Linked DNA regions of Homo sapiens: region 1 is linked to region 2. Evidence: promoter capture Hi-C in human tissues and cell types (Jung and others, 2019). All regions are on one chromosome and are shown on one strand. Each heading gives the region's core, a stretch centred on a gene start or on the middle of the fragment in contact. The rest is flanking DNA. Distances are from core to core; before and after follow the strand shown. Region 1 holds the start of SLC9A1 (solute carrier family 9 member A1). Region 2 holds the start of SYTL1 (synaptotagmin like 1).

What was found. Contacts are between HindIII fragments. The study calls those that stand out against the background at their distance.
Region 1: the fragment with the promoter of SLC9A1 here is called in contact with the fragment with the promoter of SYTL1 in region 2 in 1 of the 25 tissues and cell types used here (pancreas).

What each region holds. Positions count from the first base shown.
Region 1 is chr1:27,153,830-27,156,689 of GRCh38, forward strand. SLC9A1 (solute carrier family 9 member A1) reads right to left here and starts at 1,296. Exons shown (of 12, transcript NM_003047.5): 1 at 154-1,296. The coding sequence starts at 505. RefSeq lists a silencer at 1,016-1,245 and an enhancer at 2,191-2,690. The HindIII fragment of the contact is 28,159 bases long and covers 1-2,860 here.
Region 2 is chr1:27,340,520-27,343,271 of GRCh38, forward strand. SYTL1 (synaptotagmin like 1) reads left to right here and starts at 1,503. Exons shown (of 15, transcript NM_001193308.2): 1 at 1,503-1,631. RefSeq lists enhancers at 1,124-1,383, 1,914-1,963, 2,138-2,752. The HindIII fragment of the contact is 14,194 bases long and covers 1-2,752 here.

The DNA of each region.
Region 1 (2,860 bases), core at 46-2,545, 190 kb before region 2:
AGCCTGAGAAGGACCAAGGTGGCAGGATGGAGACTGCCTACTTTATGGGGGTAGTTCAGATCCTTACTCCTGGACAGCCTCAAATGGTGCGAGATGAGGCAAGAAGCTCACCAGTCTGGTGGCGGCCGCAGCATCGGAGCAAACGGGACTTACCTATCTTCATGAGGCAGGCCAGAAGGATCCAGAGGGAGATCTCGAAGGGGGTGCGCACGTGTGTGTAGTCGATGCCCAGGACTGGAAAGGCCTTGCGCGGCTTCATGCCATGATCAGTGACGGAATGATTAACAGGGCGGCTCTCTGGGGTGACCTCCGGTGGAGCGGTGGTGACATCCCCAATCGAGCGTTCTCGTGGTGGCTCTGAGCTTCGAATGGTGCTGGCAGTTGGGCTGAGCTGGAGGCCATGGCTCCTGAGAACAGGCAGCAGCCCCACCAAAGCAACCACCACGAGTAAGGAAGGGAAGATCCGATGTGGAGAGAGGCCACAGATGCCAGACCGCAGAACCATGGTGCTGCTTCCAGAGCCAGCCTCGACCTTACCCAAATGAGAGTAAAACCGGGCACATAGGTAGCAAAGGGTCAGCAAGTGGGAAGAGAGACTGGCGTAGTCTCTAGGAAAAGTTCATGTTTTAGAGAGGCATTTCCATGGAAGCAATTTTCTGGGGGTGGAGGGAGGCTGGGTTTGCAATCTGGAACTCCAAAGTGGGGAAAGGGGGCAAGGACCCAGGAACGACCACGAAAGGAGACCAAAAGGTCTGGAACTCCGGGCCTGGGAAGGGGGAGGACGGATGTGGGAAACTGAGCCCTAGGGATAGAGGAAGGGGCAGGATAGGGATAGTGCAAAGGAAAGGAAGAAGGAAGGCTGGGACCTTTGGCTGAGGAAAGTGACTGAGGAGCTGGGACTCTGGGCTGTGGGCTAAAGGAAGGGGTAGGGAGCCTGAGCTAAAGGAAGGGGACCGAAGGGGGTGAGAGCCAGTCCAGGAAAAGGAGAGAGGGGGCTGGGAGCCCAGGCTGAGAAGGAGTGAAACCGGGAAGCGGCCGGGAGCTTCTCCACCCAGAGAGGGGCAGGGGTCCAGGCGCGCCGGGCTGAGATTCCGGGGAAATGGAAAGAGGCGGAAGGCAGGCGGCCTGGCGGGAAGGCGCCTCGGCGCGGGCTGGGGGCGGCTCGCGGTGGGCCAGCAGCAACACGCCCCTCCTCGCGGCCCTGGCGCGACGCGGCGCTCCGCCCCGGCCCAGCTGCAGCTCCTCCTGGTCCAGCTCCAGAACTAACCCTAGCCCCGGCCCCGGCGGCAGCAGACTGAAGCCTAGCTGAGCCCGGCGCTGTCACTTATAGGCACCAGCGAGCAGCCGGTGCGGCGGGCTAGAGAGACCGTCGGCACCCGCCCAGCGCAGCGGCCCCTGTCGCCGAGGGAAAGAAGTATCGCGTAGGAAGAGGAAGGAGAGTCAGAGATGACAAAAAAAAAAAAAAAAAAAAGTCCTGAATATACAGAGAACCTCACTAACGCGAGTAAAATGCCGACTACTTACAAAACGATTTCACGTCCACATCTGCAGTCTCATAAGGGCTTTCGAATAATCCTGTGAAGAATGTATTATTAGTTTATGTATTTAGTTACCGTGTGACCTTGAGCAAGTTACTTAACCTGTTTCACAACTTTCTCATCTGTTAAGTAGAGACAGTAATAGTGACTATGTCAGAGGGATGATGTAATGACTGAGACAATCCGTGTAAACTATTTGGAATGCACCCTGGCACATTATTACAATTCCACTTTTACAGATGAGGAAACAGGTGAAGAGAGTCCCCTGGCTACTATGCAAGTAGTTGTATTGCTTACTAGGGCTGCCGTAACAAAGTATCACCCCAAACTGGGTGGCTGCAACAACAGAAATTGATTGTCTCACAGTTCTGGAGGCTGGAGGTCGGATCTAGGTGTTGGCAGGGTTGGTTTCAGCTGAGAGCTATGAGGGAGAATCTGTCCCATGCCTTTCTCCTACCTTCCAGTGGTTTGTTAGGACTATCTGGTATTCCATGGAGTTCTCCTGGTGTCTCTGTCTCTGCGTCCAGATTCCCCGCCCACACTTTATTTTTATTTTTATTTTTTTTGAGATAGAGTCTGGCTCTTGTTGCCCAGGCTGGAGTGCGGTGGCGCCATCTCAGCTCAATGCAACCTCTGCCTCCTGGATTCAAGCGATTCTCCTGCCTCAGCCTCCAGAGTAGCTGGGATTACTGGCACCCACCACCACGTCCAGCTAATTTTTGTATTTTTAGTAGAGATGGGGTTTCACCATGTTGGTCAGGCTGGTCTCGAACTCCTGACCTCAGGTGATCCACCCGCCTCGGCCTCCCAAAGTGCTGGGATTACAGGGGTAAGCCACAACCCCCAGCCAGATTTCCCCTTTTTATAAGGACACCAGTCATTGGATTAGAAATCCAACGTAATTACCTCATCTTAACCTGAACATCTTCAAAGACTGCATCCTAATTAGTCCATCTTCATAGGCACTGGGCATTAGGACTTCAACTTCTTTTGCCGGGACACAATTCAACCCACAACAGTGGCATGCTTTAAGTAGTGGAACTTAAATTTGAACCTATAGTTTGGTTGAAATTGGTGAGGTTCAAGGGATCATGGCTGTACAATGGAATCACTGGAAAGCTTTTTTAAAATACCATTGTCTAGGCCGGGCGTAGTGGCTGACGCCTGTAATCCCAGCACTTTGGGAGGCCGAGGCGGGCGGATCACGAGGTCAGGAGATCGAGACCACGGTGAAACCCGGTCTCTACTAAAAATACAAAAAATTAGCCGGGCGCAGTGGCGGGCGCCTGTAGTCCCAGCTACTCGGGAGGCTGAGGCAGGAG
Region 2 (2,752 bases), core at 253-2,752:
CTTTTCTTTTTTTTTTTGTGACGGAGTCTCGCTCTGTCGCCCAGGCTGGAGTGCAGTGGTGCGATCTCGGCTCACTGCAAGCTCCACCTCCCAGGTTCATGCCATTCTCCTGCCTCAGCTACTCGGGAAATAGCTGGGACTACAGGCAGCCGCCACCACGCCCAGCTAATTTTTTTTGTATTTTTAGTAGAGATGGGTTTTCACCGTGTTAGCCAGGATGGTCTTGATCTCCTGACCTCGTGATCCACCCGTCTCGGCCTCCCAAAGTGCTGGGATTACAGGTGTAAGCTACCACGCCCAGCCTTGTTTGCTTTTCTGAGACGGAGTCTCGCTGTGTTGCCCAGGCTGGAGTGCAGTGGTGCGATCTCGGCTCACTGCAACCTCCGCCTCCTGGGTTCAAGCGATTCTCCTGCCTCGGCCTCCCGAGTAACTGGGACTGCAAGCACCTGCCACCATGCCCGGTTAATTTTTGTATTTTGAGTAGAGACGGGGTTTCACTATATTAGCCAGACTGGTCTCAAACTCCTGTCCTAGAGTGATCCGCCCACCTCGACCTCTTAAAGTACTGGGATTACAGGCATGAGTCACTGTGCCCAGACTGGTTTTGTTTAGAATCCACCCCTTGTCCTGCCTCTCCCAGGGGTCTATGAGGAGCCCACTAATCTTTAATCCATGGCCCTAGGTTCAGGGGAGGGGGTTGGGCCAGGGCAGGCCATGGGAAGTGAAGTGGACTTGGGGGGAGTCAGAAAGCTTTGGTGTGGCCTCTTGTGCCCAAGACAACCCAGGAGGTTCATGGTCCTGAAGCCAATGTAATCTAGGGCCCAAACCTTCTAATCTCAGGGTGGGCAGAATCTAGGTGTAGAATGGGGTGAGTTCAGGGGGGCTCCACATAGACAGAGGGTGTGGGACCCTCACCTTGGCACTAGAAGAGTTCAGGCCTCCTCAAACAGATGGGGCTCAGGACAGCAGAGGGGACAGAGAGGGCTGCTCTGCCAGCATGTCCCAGAAGTGCATGTGGATATAGAGGGCAGCAGCTGCTGAGATGGCCGTGGGCATTAGGCTATGCTGGAGTGGGGACACCTCACCCCGACTATGCCAGCTCGCACCGGGCACTTTCACTTCCCTTAGTATAGGCTCCTTGCACTCTGCTACCCACAGTTTGCATCAGAAGAAATGGAAGAGACCTGCTTAAGGTCACATCACACACCCACTGGCAGAGCAGGGACTCTGCACAGGGTGGTCTAACTGCAAAGTCTGCCATCCTGCCATTCCCCTTGGGGCTGGAAAAGAAAGGTTTCTAACTTGCTTTCAAAGCGAGTTCCTATCAGCCCCGTTGTGGGCAAGGTGGGGCTGCTACCCGTTCTAGAGGGCCTGCTCAGTGGAGCTGGGGCCAAGCTGGGCCTCTCCAGTCGGCTGCGGGGGCGCACCCCCGGGCGCTGGGAGTCCAGGCCCGGTTTTGCATCAGGCCCTGCCGAGGTGTTTCCTCCTCCTCCGTGTGGGGCAGCTGCTGGCTGGGCTGCCTGTTGAGTCAGCCTTCTTCCCTCACGGCTCTTCTCCCGGTCCCTGAAACTCGGCTGCCAGGGGAGCTGGAGCCACCTGCGAAGGTGTCCTCCCATACTGGACCCCTACAGGTAACACGTGTCGGTGCCAGGGTCCCCTGCCAGGGTCCAGAGACGCAGGCACTGCCACCTGGTATCCTGAGCACCCTCCAGCACCTTGGGGTTGGGGGAGGTGGGCACATGTCTGGAACTGGAACAGCTGGACAGATGGACAGACCCTCCTCTTGACCAATGGGTCTGTCCCACCGTGTCAAAACAGCAGAGAAGACCAAACTCCTACCTAACTCTGGTAGGAGATTCTGCCTCTGGTTGGTAGGAGAGGGGACTTCAGGGAGGGGGCACTGCTGAGGACGCTGGGCTGATGCCCATGGCCCAGCTCAGGCAGGCCTGAAGGACAGAAATAGGCTCAGTTCTGCCGAACGTCCCCCCGGCCTCCATCCACACTCAGACACACACACCTGGTGGCCCCCAAGGCACCAGGGGACACCCCACAGCACACAGCCCAGTCACACATACAGCACAGGAGGAAATGCACAATGCATACTGTACACACCCCACACGGCGCTGTCACCTAGAAAGTCACTGAACACACCACACAGACAATATAGTCACCATGCAGCATCACACTGCAACAGGACACAAAGACACACAGCAACTACACAGCTCACAGACTCACGCAACGCAGACATGCCCACCAGACTCGGACCCACACAGCCACACAACAGGGCACAGAGAGGGACGTGGGCTCACACCCCAATCCACAGGGGAGGCCGAACGTGGGCTCACACCCCAATCCACAGGGGAGGCCGAACGTGGGCTCACACGTTGGCCACAGAAGTCCAGGGAAACTGCTGTTGTGGAGCACACAGGTATCCACAGAGTGAATGCACACCGTGCAGCCGTGCTGAGGCCTTCTGCTCCTGAGGGTGTCAAGAGGGATCGCTGGGGCTCGGCCACTGACTCAGCTGGGAGGGGACAGAGCATAGCAGGCGGCGGACACAAGCCAGGACCTGCCCGCCAAGCTGCCTCCGCCGGTCTCAGCCCCACCTGGAGCCGTGGCAATGGAAGGGGCGGGGAAGAGAGGAGAGGCCGCCCAGTGGGCTCAGGACACAGCCCTGACCAAGTCATGGGCCCCTTGCCACGTCTACATGCCCCTCAGCGCTGGGCAAATGCTTTCTTTCCGGAGTCACTGT